Linked DNA regions of Homo sapiens: all the other regions are linked to region 3. The links are contacts of gene promoters, found by promoter capture Hi-C in human tissues and cell types (Jung and others, 2019). All regions are on one chromosome and are shown on one strand. Each heading gives the region's core, a stretch centred on a gene start or on the middle of the fragment in contact. The rest is flanking DNA. Distances are from core to core; before and after follow the strand shown.

Region 1 (4,586 bases), core at 1,873-4,372, 80 kb before region 3:
CTTTGTGTAGAGGAGAAAAAGTAATATCTCTTTTCTCACCCATCATAAGGCTCATGACTGAGGCACCGGTATTAAAAAAACAGATTAATGATAGAAAAGCATACAAAATTATGTATTCACTTTTATTTATTTATTTACTTATTGAGACAGAGTCTCACTTTGTTACTCAGGTTGAAGTGCAGTGGTATGATCTCGGCTCACTGCAACCATTGCCTCCTGGGTTCAAGTGATTCTCATGCCTCAGCCTCCCGAGTCGTTAGGACTTACAGGCGCATGCCACCATGCCTGGATCTTTTTTTTTAAATTTTTTGTAGAGATGGAGTTTTGCCATGTTGGCTAGGCTGGTCTGAAATTCCTGGCCTCAAGATATCCACCCACCTTGGCCTCCCAAAGTGCTAGGATTACAGGCATGAGCCACTGCGCCCAGCCTATTTATTCTTATTGATACATATTGGATATACATATTTTCGGGGCACATGTGATAATTTGATACACTCATGTAATTAAATCAGGTAATTGGAATATTCATCAACCTAAATATTCATCTTTTCTATATGCTAAGAACATTCAAATTATTCTCTTCCAGCTATTTTGAAATATACAATAGATTAATGTTAACTATAGTCACCCTACTGATCTACTGAATATTAGGTCTTATTTCTTCTAAGTGTATATTTGTACCCCTTAATCAATCTTTCTTCATTGCCCTCTACCCTCACCTTTTGATTTATTTAACATAAGTTGTCTTTTTTTTTTTTAAATTAATGTGACATGGGAGCCTTCAGAAATGAAGTCCAAAGAAACAGGTAAACTTGTGCATTTTTACACCAAGTTTGATGAAATGGAGAACTGTGGAGAATTATGATTGGAGAACAAAAGGGTGATCTACTAGTGATCAACTGGGAGGAACTTAGCAAGACCGGTTTGTTCAGATTCTTCTTGGCATTTCTGTGTCTTTGAAGATAAGTATGTTCCTTTCCTCTGGTTGTAGGGAGGGTATCTCTGGAATAAGGGTCTTATGACCTACTTCAGAAAGGAAGGTCAGATAATTCTTTCATGACCAGCTTCAGGGGAGAAGGTCAAAGGGGAAAGTCAAAGAGATCTTCCTGCTTCTGCTATTTTCTCAAATGGTAAGGTGCCATACTTGAAGGTAGTGTGTCCTGAACCCCATCACTTACTATCTCTTGGATCACTCTGAGTGAAGCCAGCCCCCATGGTCTGAGGACACTCAAGTAGTCCCTGGAGAGTTCCAAATAGGAAGGACCTATAACTCCTACCAACAGCTGGTAGCCGTGTGAGTAAACCATCTTGGAATGGATCCTCAATCTCCTTCAAGCCTCCCAGTGACTGCCTGCAGCTCTGGCTGGCAGCTTGACTGGAACTTCAGGAGGTACCCTGAGCTAGAACCATCCAGCTAAGCCACTTTCAGAGTCCTGACACTTAGAAACTGTGGGCAATAATAAATGTTTACTGTTCTTGGGAGCTGCTAAGTTAAGGAGTATCTGATATGCAGTAATAAATGACTAATATTGTCATTTTACATAGCATACATAAAAATGGCTAACCTGGTCTCTCAGGTTACTGCCTATAGCTATTCATCAACTTCTCCTCACCTGGCCATGTGTCTAAAATTCTTGCACTTGAAGCTCATTCCTTTCTGAACATCAATTTTCAGTATCATCATCTTGAAAGTCAAACTCCCCTGTATGTGCTTTATCTCAACCCTTAAGCTGCAATGAGTTAACCTCTAAATGGACATTAGTTCATAGCCGGTTGATAGGAGAGTATAACTGGGAGATAGGACTTGTGGTTAAGAGATGGGAACAAACTTTGGCTGTTGATTAGAAAATAACCGAGTGTAGATTTAGAGTCAGGAAATCCAGATAGACTTCTTGTTTCACCTATGAGCCTGTGATTATGTGCAAGCCATGTAACTTCATGAATTTTAGTTTCCTCATCTGTACGATGAGAATAATGAAAGTATCTAACTCACAGTCACCCCCACCACCCCTGCCCCCCATATACACTCTCCTTCATCCCCAGTCCCAGTGAGGATAAACAATGATAAGACACATGAAAATACTTTATACACCAAGAAGGTTCACACAAAAGTTATCTTACTTAGCAAAAAAGTCAGTCTCCTAGGGTGGAGATAGGTGGGCTCTGCCCCCATTTATTAAGTACTTTTTCTGTGGCATTCATTATTAAGAGCAGGAACATAAAAATGAATAAGTTTCCTATCCTCAAGGGGTTCACCATACTGACAGTGATAAATAAGACAAGAGGCTATTACTTTAAATGTAAAAAGTGCTAAGCACACAATAATTGATTCATTTCTTCATCAAATATTTATAGAGTGCATTGCCCCACAGGTAAATGTGCTGGGTGCTACTGATACATGAACAGTTGATTAGCAAGCCCATTGAGACAGCTGCCAGCAGGAGGCGTCACTGAGCTGAGTCATAAAGTTTGGGTAGGAGACAGTTCAGTGAAGTTTAAGGCTAAGGGTACCACAGGCAGGATGAATAAGGGCATGGAGGCGAGCACCAGCATGGTGACATAGGGCAACTTCCCTCAATTCAGTGATGATCAACACCCTTGAGAAAAACTCTCCCGAAGATAACTGGAGAGGATAGGGGCCTGGCTGACCCAGAGCCCTGTTTAGCTGGTTTACATCAGGTCAGTGGCATGCCTGATGTTCTCATTGGGAATGCCTGTCAACTCCCAGTTACCCATCAGTGTGACCTCAGCCCCAGGCCTCTTGACCTTGCATGCTCATGGGCCCTTTTGCACTATGAATAACTTAGAGAATACCAACTAACTTAAATATTAGACTAACTGATAATTAAGTTAATTAAGCTAATAATTAGGAGGATGGATTTATTGTGCAAGAAGTCATCCAGTGTATGCCTAGGCCAATTAAAATTAAAATTAAAATTAATTGCTGTTTGGGGTTCCCTGTATCTCTGACCCTGCTATTGGCTCAGACCATCCATCCTTGACTGTGCCCATTAAGGAAGCCCCTTTTCCTTCATGCTCATGTGTGCTGCTCAGGGCTTACAGCTGCTGAGATGGTAAAGTGAGAATAGGTGTCCTTTGGGGTCACAAGCCTATTATCTGATGCAAAGAAGTGTCTCATTGCCTTCAAATGAGCAAAATAAAAGATCAGCTGATTTTATTTCCTCATCAAGATGGATGATTTCCAAGTGTTGAAACTGAACTTGATGATTAAAACTCATTTCCTTGCAAAACCCAGCCCTGGAGGTGTCATCTTCCTTGGCTACTATACCCAGCCCTTGGTGACATGTGACTTGAGCTCAATGTGAATGGGCATTTAATTTGATATCCAGGATAATGTATCCCCACAAAGTACAGAATCCCCTAAATAAATAAAATGGGCTTATTATTCACTGGGTAGAGTTATCCAGACACCCTTGGATACAAGATGGAGCAGAAACCAGACAAATAAACGGATATTAGCAGTCTGACACTTTTGCCCAAATAAGACTCACTTTTTTGAAGGATCAATCTTCTGGGCAAGGACCCTGAGGATTTTGTGTCACTCCTGCTGATCTTTTACACACAGATTTCTTCCAGTTATGGTTCTGACTGACCTGCTGTGCTCCAAGTAAGTTCTTCTTTGGACAACAAAAGGAATATGAATCTTCATGCTGATGGGGGGAGTAGATGTTAGCTTGTCTCTTTGGGTTGGTCCATTTCAGAACAGCTAAGGTCCTTGTTGTAAACTGCATATGGGACTTGCCTTAGCCCAGCTCTGGGTCTCTGTCTGAGGCCCAGATCAGCTTGTCCTACTTTCCTCTTTCTTCACTAGAGGTCCAGGAACTCAGCTGCCCAAAACCAGCCCTGGGGGTCTTGACCCCAGGGCAAACACTCTTGCCCTGGTGGTCTTCCTGTCCCTGGAATTCCCTGTGAAAAGCAGTGCTGCCATCTCAGTTTCCTCCCTCCTTTTTGCTCCCAGAATGACAATTTCCCAGGGCCCCTTTGGTTTCAGTCATTTGCTGCAAATCCTGAACTTCAGCCCTCAGGTTTTATTCCAAGGGCATGACTCACCAACCCCAAGACATTTGGCTTTCAAACTGCTAAATGATTCACGCAGAATAAGAAGCCCCATAGCATATGTAGTTGAGATTTGTGCCTCTGCAAAATTACACATCTTCACTTGACGGGTCTTTAGGGCTGTTGGTGAATGGTGCAGGTGATAATGTTGGTTTCTTAGATATCAAGGGTCTGTTGAATCAGAGTTGGGCCACAGGATATAGATAGGAAATAAGGATTTGGTGGGGAATGTCTGCCAGTATTATTTCTCTATGTAGAGGATAACAAGCATGACCAGATATCAGCCCTAAGAACTTTCCCCTCTGCATCCTCTGCCCTTGCAGTGATGCCCTCACCTCTTGGGCAGCCAGCAGTGCTTCAAGCCCCCTTGCTTTTGTATCCAAGTCTTCCATTACACTTCATGGCATGAGGCACCTACTTGTCAGGTGGCTATTTTGATTTATGGAGACTTTGTATGTGGATTTAGTGTAACTTAACTGGGAGAACCAATTGCTGGTGTGTAGGAAAAA
Region 2 (4,898 bases), core at 221-2,720, 100 kb after region 3:
ACTGATTAGATCTGCAATAAACTGAGACCAGCTACCTCAGAGCTAAACAGCCTGCATTGCCAAGGGAGGAATGGCGTGCTGTTGGACAATGTGTCTGTTGATGCACATTTTCATAAATTGTTTACTGACCCTGTGGGGTAACATAAATACTTAGCAGCTAACACACCCCCTAATTTGTAGTAACAATCTCTCATCACATGCATACTATTAACATATTAGGCAATACACATTTCTGTACTTTGACTTTTTAAAGTAATAATGTTCTTGAGGAAATAGAAAATCATGATCACAATTTATTTCAGAGGGTGTTTAGTAATTTACCATGCATCTGTGAAATGTTACTTAATCCTGGGTGGTCTGTGTGCATAATTATGTTTTAATTTGCACATGATTGCTGACTTTCATATCACTTAAACAATCAGGATGCATCAAATGACTGGTTGTTGTCTTATAACATTTTGTTTTCCCCTTTGGAACTATTGGAAAGAGACCATCACATCCCACAACCATCTGTGATATCGCCTGTGTATTGCTGAATATTGAATAGATATTATGAGTATTGAATTTGGCATCATTTCTGTGGTCATATTTCTATGTGATTTTCATTGCCTACTGAAAAGAAAATGAAAAGAGGAAGGAAAATAATTAAAAGTTCTCTAGGCTCTGCAGAACCACCCTTGCATTTCTAGATTTTTCTTTTTCCTAGATCCTTCAAACAAACCATCCTTTATTTTGTTTTCCCTTCCTATAATAATAACAGCGTCTTGTCTTTGCATAGTATACATATTTTAAAGGCATTGTCCAACAAAGCACCGTGTCTGGTTCTCACATTGACTATGAGGTGGATGAACAGGCCATGGAAATCTCCACTGTGTATATGAAGAAACTGAGGCACAGGGCGTTGGTGACTCATGGAGACAAATACCACTGTGGCCCAGTGATGGTTTAAAAGCCAAAAACTCCTGATTCCTTTCCAAACACTTCCCACTCAGTAGCACTGCCTTCTCATCAGAGGCTGATAAGATGTCACATAAGTCCTCTTACAACTGAGAGGAGCATGGAGCATAACTCCAGGATATCAGGAGTGATTATGGAATTGGGTGTGAGGGACCAACATTATCTGAAAAGAGGTGCAGGCCAGGAATATAGACATGCTTCTCCTTCTGGGTTCCCTCAGTGCATCATCGCTCATGAGAAATGAGAGAAACATCATTGTTTCCTTCACCTCTCACCCAATAGATTATAAAATTCTATTAACGTTTCTCTAGTGATTCTCAAAACTATCACTTGCCCCTCTTTCCAGTTGTCATTATCCTATTTTAGGCTCAATACTTGCTTTTACATATTATATATGTGCATTTCTTATATATGGTTTTAGAGATAGGATGTTGCTCTGTCACCCAGGCTGGAGTGCAATAGTGCAATCATAGCTCACTGCAGCCTCAAACTCCTGGGCTCAAGTGATCCTCCTGCTTCAGCCTCCTGAGTAGCTGGAATTACAGATACATGCCACTGCGCCTGGCTAATTTTTTATTTTTTGTAAAGATGGGGTCTCACTGTGTTGCTCAGACTGGTCTCAAACCCCTGGCCTCAAGTGATCCTCCTATCTTGGCCTCCCAAAGTGCTGGGATTACAGGTGTGAGACACCGCAGCAGGCTGAGGCCCCATCCTTTCTGACAGACATTACAACAGCCTAGCCAGTTCTCCAGGTCTTCACTCTCCCCGCAATCCTTGCACCGCATCCTGGCTGCCAACCTCAGCCCTTCCTCTACTGCACTGCAAGGTTGACATAGACTGTAACTATGACCATGTCACTCCTCAACTTAAACCACTTTAGTAATTCCTCATTGCTTACAAAAAGCCCAAGTTCCTATCATAACCTGGCTTCTGGGTTCTTCTCCAGAAGAATCTCCTGTGACTCCCTGCCTCTAACATTAAGTTTCAGTAACATGCCAAGTTTCCTACAGTTTCATGCTTCCTAGCTTTTGCATATGCTATTTCCTAAGTTTGCAACACTTTTTCTCCCCCACCACAAACACATAGCACGTGTGTGTATGTGTGCACACAATGCCTATACACTTTTCACATACTCTGGTTATCCCTTGTGGACTGGGGGCGGGTGGTGGGGGAAGTGTTCTTCAAGATTCAGTTCACAAATCTTCCCTTCTGGTTGTCATTTCTTATCCATTTGGGCTGAGTTGCAGGCCCCTTCACTTTTCTGGCAGAGTGTCCTTAAAGGATGATATGGTTGTGGATTAGGATTACCGGGTCTGCCTCTCTGTCTCCTCTGATTATGACCTACTTGATAGCAGGGACAGGGTTTTATTAATCATCATAGCATTAGCTTAACAGTATCTAACACCTATTAGATTCCAAATAAATGTCTTTTAAACTGAACCGAAGTACATTGGCATGAAAATTACATTTTCTTCCTGTACTGATAGACTCCAGCACCTCGGATAACTCATTTATTTAACCTGCGCTATGAGGCTTTCCTAGTCAATAATTGACTAACACATCTCCCGCTTTGGTTTAATACAAAGGATCCTCAGCACGATCCTAGATCCTACACCAAGCCCATTTGTAACTTGACTTTATGAACAAAGGGCCATATTAGTGAAAAGTACTTTTTTATTCCAGTGTCAGACTTGGGAAGTTTATTTTCTTTTGTTTTATCCTAGCTAAAGACAAAAATATGTAAGGAGGGTCACTGCACTGTGGAGCAGCCTCCTTCTCCTACAGATAGGGTAAAAACTCTTTGCCCCATGAGCCATTCCATCCCATTGTACCTTCTCCACAGTAATAGAAGATGCCATTGAGTATATTAATCTTTACATTACTATGTCCTCCCTATAAGGACACTTAGGATAATTATTTGGTATTCTCACTTAGATACTTCTAGACAACTCATTTATTTTTATCTTATGAACAATGCAAACCACAAAATTGATGTTCTTTCTCTCTCCCTCACTTTCTTTCTCTCTCTCTTTTTTCTTTTTCCCCTCCTTCTCTCCAACCCTGCCCTCCGTCCCACCATTGGCTGGTAAAAAGCTTGAAATTAAATGTTTGTTTGGCCACTTGCTAGTATGTATGACCCCAGGGTATAAATTTTATGTATTAACCTCATTTTAAGATGCGTTGTTTTCCTACTTTATTTTTATTTAACCAATTTCTCCAAATTTCATGTATTTTATTTTGCTCTATAGTTTATCTTTTTATCAGCACTTTGAGTTCTTTTATTATCGAGGTACAATATCAACACATAAATATGTGTCACAATGACTAAAGTGAGAGTATGTATAATGTAGAAGACAGCTTGATGAGTAATTTCTACATCAACAATCTAGGTTGTTACCTTTTTCCAGCAGCACATAGGCAGTTACATAATCTCATACAAGGCACTTCTATTTGGTAGGACAGGGGTTACACATTTAATTCTTAGAAGGAAAATTTGCTTTTGTTTCTGGTAATTTATAGTTATTTTAAGGCTTATTATCATATATATATATATATATACCCACACACACACACATATATATATTTAGTTGTAACAGGTTATTGATCAGATGAAATGGGTGAACAACTAATACTTAGCCCAGGTACTTTAAAGGGTAGCTGAGGGCATTGTCTTGCATAGGAGAGAATATGCACATGATTTGAGAACTGTCGTGAGCCCAAGGAGATATAAGGGAATGGCAGAAACCTTACCCTGGGTCCTTCCACATAGTAAAGAACCACTAAATATGGGCTCTTCACAAAATCTTTTGAAGTAGGTAGGGCAAAGTAAGCTTTTAGAATAAAGATTCTGAACTAATTGGACAGGCAAGCTTTAAATCAAATGTCTGCCAAAAATTTCTGGCTGGCATTGGTGCTAGAGATAATGGTGCCAGTACATGGCTTAACAACCAAGACACCTTTAAATTCTCCCTCCCAGACAGACGTCCAAATACTTGAGGAGCTCATTGCCCTTACAGTTCATGGTAAATATTCTGAAAGGATGTGCTCAATGTTTGCCTGGCACACAGGCCATATAGAGGAAAGAGAAGAAGGAAATTTGAAGACTTGGATACTCTTATTCTGTGGTCCCAGAACTTTATCTGAATTTAAGCTGTGTAGAAGGCATACAGGGATAAAATCTTCAGGCTCTCCCTTAAAAAAGATCTATCTCTGGAATTACCTATTTACTCATGTCACCTTCCAAATATGCAAGAAGCTTTATGTAACTGATTTTATTCATTCAGGCAACAAATATTTCTTGGGGTAATGCTACCTGTTGGGCACTGTTCTAGCCAGTGGGGTTACAGCAGTAAACAGAAGAAGTCCTTGCACTTCCTGAGTTTACATTCTCATGGAGATTGTCAGGTTCTGCAGAGAAAAATAAGCAAGACAAGGAGGACATGGAGTTCAATGGTTACGGAAGGTTCTGACAGAGGACATTTGAACAGAGACCAAAATGAAGTGAAAAAAGAGAACTATATGAATATCTAGGAGAAGAGCATTCCACGCTGAAGGAAGAGGAAATTCAAAATTCTCAGGCTGGAATGAAGCTGGAAATCAGGTGGCTGGTGAGGACTAAGCTAGAAGTCCTTGGTGAGGCTGGAAAGTTAGCCAGGATGAGGTCATGAAAGGTCTTGTAGATTATGATGAGGTCCTTGTCTTTTACCTCACATGAGCTAGAAAGACACTAAAGGTTTTTGAGCAGAGGAGTGGCTGCCGGGCAAGGTGTCAGAGCCCCAACACTCAGAAGTGGTTGATTCATGGGTTGGTAAAAAGAATTTACTGACAACAGTGTAGGTTTGAAAAAGGAAAGTTTATTAGAAAGGAAGAACACTGCAAGAGGGCATAGAAGGGCACCTCAGTGAGAGCACTCAGCACGCCGTGGTGGATTTTCCTTAGGG
Region 3 (4,409 bases), core at 899-3,398:
TCCTACTATGCTCTTTCCCCTTTCCCTCCTCCATGAGTTTGCACATGCTATGCCTTCAGCTTAATTCTCTCACCCACTTTTTGCTGGGAAGACTTCTGATTATTCAGGCCTCAGCTTAGATGCTGCATACCTTAGGAATTCCCCTAGCCCTCAAAGATCAAGTTAGTTGTGTTTTCCATGTGCTCACTGCCCAAATTCTTGGCACTTAGTCCTTGAATTGTAATCATTTGTGTCTTGCTCTTTCTTTCCCCCTTTGAGGAACTGGTAACTCTGTTGAGGACAGGGACCATGATTTGTTAATTGTCACCTACCATCTTTGTCCTACTTCATCCACTTTTCACCCAAAAAAAAAAAAAAAGCCAGAAAAAGTAAGCCACCTCAGCTAAGGAATTCATAATTCTGAGATTCTGAAGAAAATGTCAATTTCTCACTGAGCGTTTATTACCTGAATGCATTACAACGTTTCAGCTCTTCAAATTGCTGGCTCCGTTCTTGCACTGTGTTAGGCAGTGGGCAATAATTTGCTTTTGGTACAGAAATTGAGTGATGTGTCTTCTGAACTGATGTTAAAACCCAATAGTTTCCAATTTTATAAGATTTAAAGCCAGTTTTGTATATGTGAAACTACCCAAATCACCAAGAGAATTAATTTTCTTAGGAGATTCTCATCGGTAATAGCAATTTCCACAGTTTGTTTGGCACCCCTAGTGGTAAATATTTTATTTTAAAAACTCAGCCACATATAAATTTATTGTAACAATCTAGGCACTTTGTCATAAATAAAAGCAATGATAACTGTGGTGCTATCTTCTATTTACTTCAAATGTCACTCCTGAAGTGTACATTTATAGAACATGGTAATTCAATGAGGAAGCTCCAGGGTCAGATGGCTCAGGTTCCATTACCATCCCTGACACTCACTAGTTGTGTGATCTTTGGAAAGTTATTTCATTCCTCTGTTACTCAGTTCCCAGTCTATAGAGTAGCAATAATAGCCTCTGCATTATAGAGTTATTGTATGGCTTAAATGAGCTAATACATGTAAGGGCTTATAACAGTGCCTAGCACCTGGTATAAACACTCTATAAATGTTAGCTATTGTTATTTGCCAGGAGTGAATCAAATATAAGAAGAGTGTTTGTATAAGATTACCTTTAAATTCCCTGCCAATCCTGAGGTTCTATGTTTCTATATCATTCCAGTCCCTTAGCATTCCTATTCAGTAGGGAGGGGGCAGCATTATCCACATTTTACAAACAGTAAAATTGAGCCATAGAGAAGCAAAATGTCCAGTAAGCAAGTGGCAGTCTGAAACCAGGACTCAGATTTTTAGATGTAAGTATTAGGACTCTTTCCGGGAGGCTGTGTGGCTGTACATTTAAAAGAGAATGTTAGATATCCCTTATGAGCCTATGAGCAGTGACCCCTTGATGCCCCTTCTCTGCCAAGGTTCTCCATAAATGTGCATCAAGGTCACTTCTGTCTCTACTTCTGAGATGATCTCAGGCCATATCTTTTCAGATATTTTTCTTACTAGCTTTACAAAAAAGCTATATTGTGGAGTTGGATGAAGGGCCAGCTCCCTGTATCCTCTGCCTCTTTAGGCATTCCCATGCCTGGGTTGTGCTACGTATACACATACTTCACCTGGCTGCAGACGCTGACTTTTTGGAGGGTTCCTTCTGCTGAGCCCGGACCTCAAACCACTTGAGAACCCCACAACTGACCTTATTCCAAAACATTCTATCCCAACCCATTCCACCCTGGATTTCTCCTTCAATCATGGGCAAAGGATCTGCAAAAGCTTCCATCCTCTCCCTTTCTCTTCTTATCTGGGTTGGTCAGAGGGAAGCCTCTATCTTCTTCAGGACCCTGCCTATGCAGAGGCAGCTCCAAGAGTTGGGTGCGGGGAGTATTTCTGTGCCTGAATCTGGACTGTTCAAGAGGATTTAGGATGCTTTTCTTTTCTGTCCACTAGGGGGCTGCTTGTAGGGGGATGGAAAAAACGGAGGCTTAAAAAAATCATGCTGCTGAAATTTCAGCAAGAGGGGAAAAGAGAGAGCGCGTGAGAGAGAGAGAGAGAGAGAGAGAGAGAGAGAGAGAGAGAGAGAGACAGCAAAGCAGTCCCAGGCTTCCTCCTCTCTTTCACGTCAGAGGCAGGAACCGACTGTGCTAAGGCTGTTGGCTCAACACCCAGAGGAGACGGGCAGACCCAGGGAGAGTGAGAGAAGGGGGTCCTCTCTGACCCAAGGAATTACCACTAGTGGAGTGAAGCCACCTGACTTTTTGATCTTATTTTGGTTGCCTCCTCATTCTCCTTCCACCCGTAGCCCTGACAGCTTGGGTTTCATTTCTTTCGTGGAGCCTTGTCTCTTCCTCCCAGAATAGGAGGAAGGGAAGAGAAGGGAAAGAGGAGGGCTCTCTAGGTGAGCGCATCAGCTGGCTCCAGCCTGAGCAAGCAAGAATTTTCTTCCCAGGAAGCTCCTCTCGCTCCCCGGCCGCCCACCCCCAGCCTGGGTAAGTCCAGAGCACTCGCTCCTTTGATTTTCTGGCTAACGTGATTTCAGCACCAAGGAGAGCTATGAGATGCATTTTGGTTCCTGTGTATCTGTGTGTTCTGCAAGGCATTTGGCACTAGGGTTACATCTATTTCTCTGCTGCCAGTAGAGTCGGGTTCTGCGTAGGGAAAAGAAAGGCGCAAAACTATGTTTACCGAATTAAAGGGGGATTGGACTCTGGCCTTGCGGGTGTGTGTGTGTGTGTGTGTGTGTGTGTGTGTACTGTTGCATAAGACAGGTGAGGTCTGAGCTAAATTGCGGGTGGTTTCTGCGTGTCTCCATGTAAGGCTGTTCTTTTTGTCTGTAGATAAGCGAGATGGTTTGGGGAATTAGTCGTGCACCTTCTTTAACTCTCTCCCGACAAGCCATCCATGGTGGGAAAGAGTTGCAAAGGAAGCCTGGGGGGTTGGGAGTGGAGGTAGAGTTAAAAGTTACGCACCTCTGAGAGAGCTTTAAAGAGGTGCTTTGTAAAATGTCAGTTTCCTAGTATTCTCTGGGCTCTTGCTGTGGAGAGAGCCCAACCTGACCTTTTACTTTCTCTTCTGGTGTGAACCCATGGTAAGTGGGCAGGTGCAACAGGTGAAGCTCAGGCTGGGGCGGCTTTGGGGGGTTGAGGTCCCTTCTGACTTCATGGTGGTAGGAAAGTGCTAGTGTCTTGAGCTTTGCAGAGACTGGCTGGTGTGGGTTATATTACATTTGCAAGGAGGCAGGAGGTACCCTCCACTTTTATGCCATCTTTGGCTATGGGTGGTTGGAAAGAAGACAAAGTCTGTTCTGCCCTGTTTTCTGGGGCATTTGGCAGTGAAAAACAACTAAGAATAAAGGTTTGTCTCTATATGTCTAGGGTGAGCAGAAACAAAATTAGACTTGTCCCAGACTCAGGAGGGCTTGAAGTGGTACTCTGTTCTCCTCCAGCACTGAGAGGCTCTGCAAACAGGAGCTCATTATTACTTCTTTCTTCACTGCTGCTACTTTTTGCAAGGTATTACTCTGTCTCTCCTGCTTTCTGCCTCTCTGAAGTATGTTCAGTCAATTCCCTGCATCTGCTTTGGTATTGTCTTGGAGACACTATAGGCCTGCCCCTGCCCCATTCAGTCCTGGCCACACCTACCTGGTTGAGTCATTCAACAAGTGGTGTTGAGGATTTCCTTCAATCATTCAAGTCTCCGTGGAGCCAGCATCCTACAGGGAACTTGAAAGAGATGTGGCTTCTTGTAGGAGCAAGTCTTCCCTTGATTTAACCCCTAACTGTTTATGGTTCTGGTCACTTTCTTCAAGTGTGTTGAGACAGGGGAGATACATAGGCAAGGTGGGGTGGTTTCACTCTTTCCAACCCCAAATGGACCCTAGAATGGTGATTCTTTGTCTTATTTTTAATTCAGCACAATGGGCCCCTTCTCCAAGATGAAGAAAATACTCTCTGCCTCTGGCTGGGGAGCCTTCTGGGTGAGAGACACAGTTCTGAGTGAAATGGCACCACTTTTCTTTTTTACTATGCTTGGCATTGGATCCAGAAATCTTAGCATCTCCCTAGAGTGGCAGGAAGTAGAATGCATCCAGGAAGACAGTGAAGTCAGAGGTTGTAAGGGTAGGGAAGAAAGACTGAAATAGACAAATGCAGAGCATCAGAAACCAACACTGACTCATTCAGTATTTTAACATTCCAAACCTCCTGTCCTTGAAATCTTCCAGTTTGAACAAGTGAGTGGATAGATTTCTGCATGACACATCACTGAGGATTTTTAAAAAATTATGCCCTTGCAGTGGACCCTGTCCAAAACCACAGTTTATTACTGAAGTCACCATACTTAGTAGTCATTATCTCATTAATGCCCTTAAATTTTCTCTGAA

The links. The method cuts DNA at HindIII sites, captures the fragments that hold promoters and counts their contacts. A contact is called where the count stands out against the background at its distance.
Region 1: a contact is called between a fragment that was not itself captured here and the fragment with the promoter of TNR in region 3, in 2 of the 25 tissues and cell types used here (mesendoderm cells and stomach).
Region 2: a fragment that was not itself captured here is called in contact with the fragment with the promoter of TNR in region 3 in 3 of the 25 tissues and cell types used here (dorsolateral prefrontal cortex, hippocampus and mesendoderm cells).

Annotation. Positions count from the first base shown.
Region 1 is chr1:175,822,254-175,826,839 of GRCh38, reverse strand. No RefSeq gene overlaps it. Among named protein-coding and RNA genes, the nearest start is that of LINC01657, 53 kb to the left of the region's middle. The HindIII fragment of the contact is 5,458 bases long and covers 394-4,586 here.
Region 2 is chr1:175,639,410-175,644,307 of GRCh38, reverse strand. All of the region lies in intron 1 of TNR (tenascin R), which reads left to right. Among named protein-coding and RNA genes, the nearest start is that of TNR, 100 kb to the left of the region's middle. The HindIII fragment of the contact is 5,100 bases long and covers 1-4,020 here.
Region 3 is chr1:175,741,334-175,745,742 of GRCh38, reverse strand. TNR (tenascin R) reads left to right here and starts at 2,148. Exons shown (of 23, transcript NM_003285.3): 1 at 2,148-2,517. The HindIII fragment of the contact is 10,162 bases long and covers 542-4,409 here.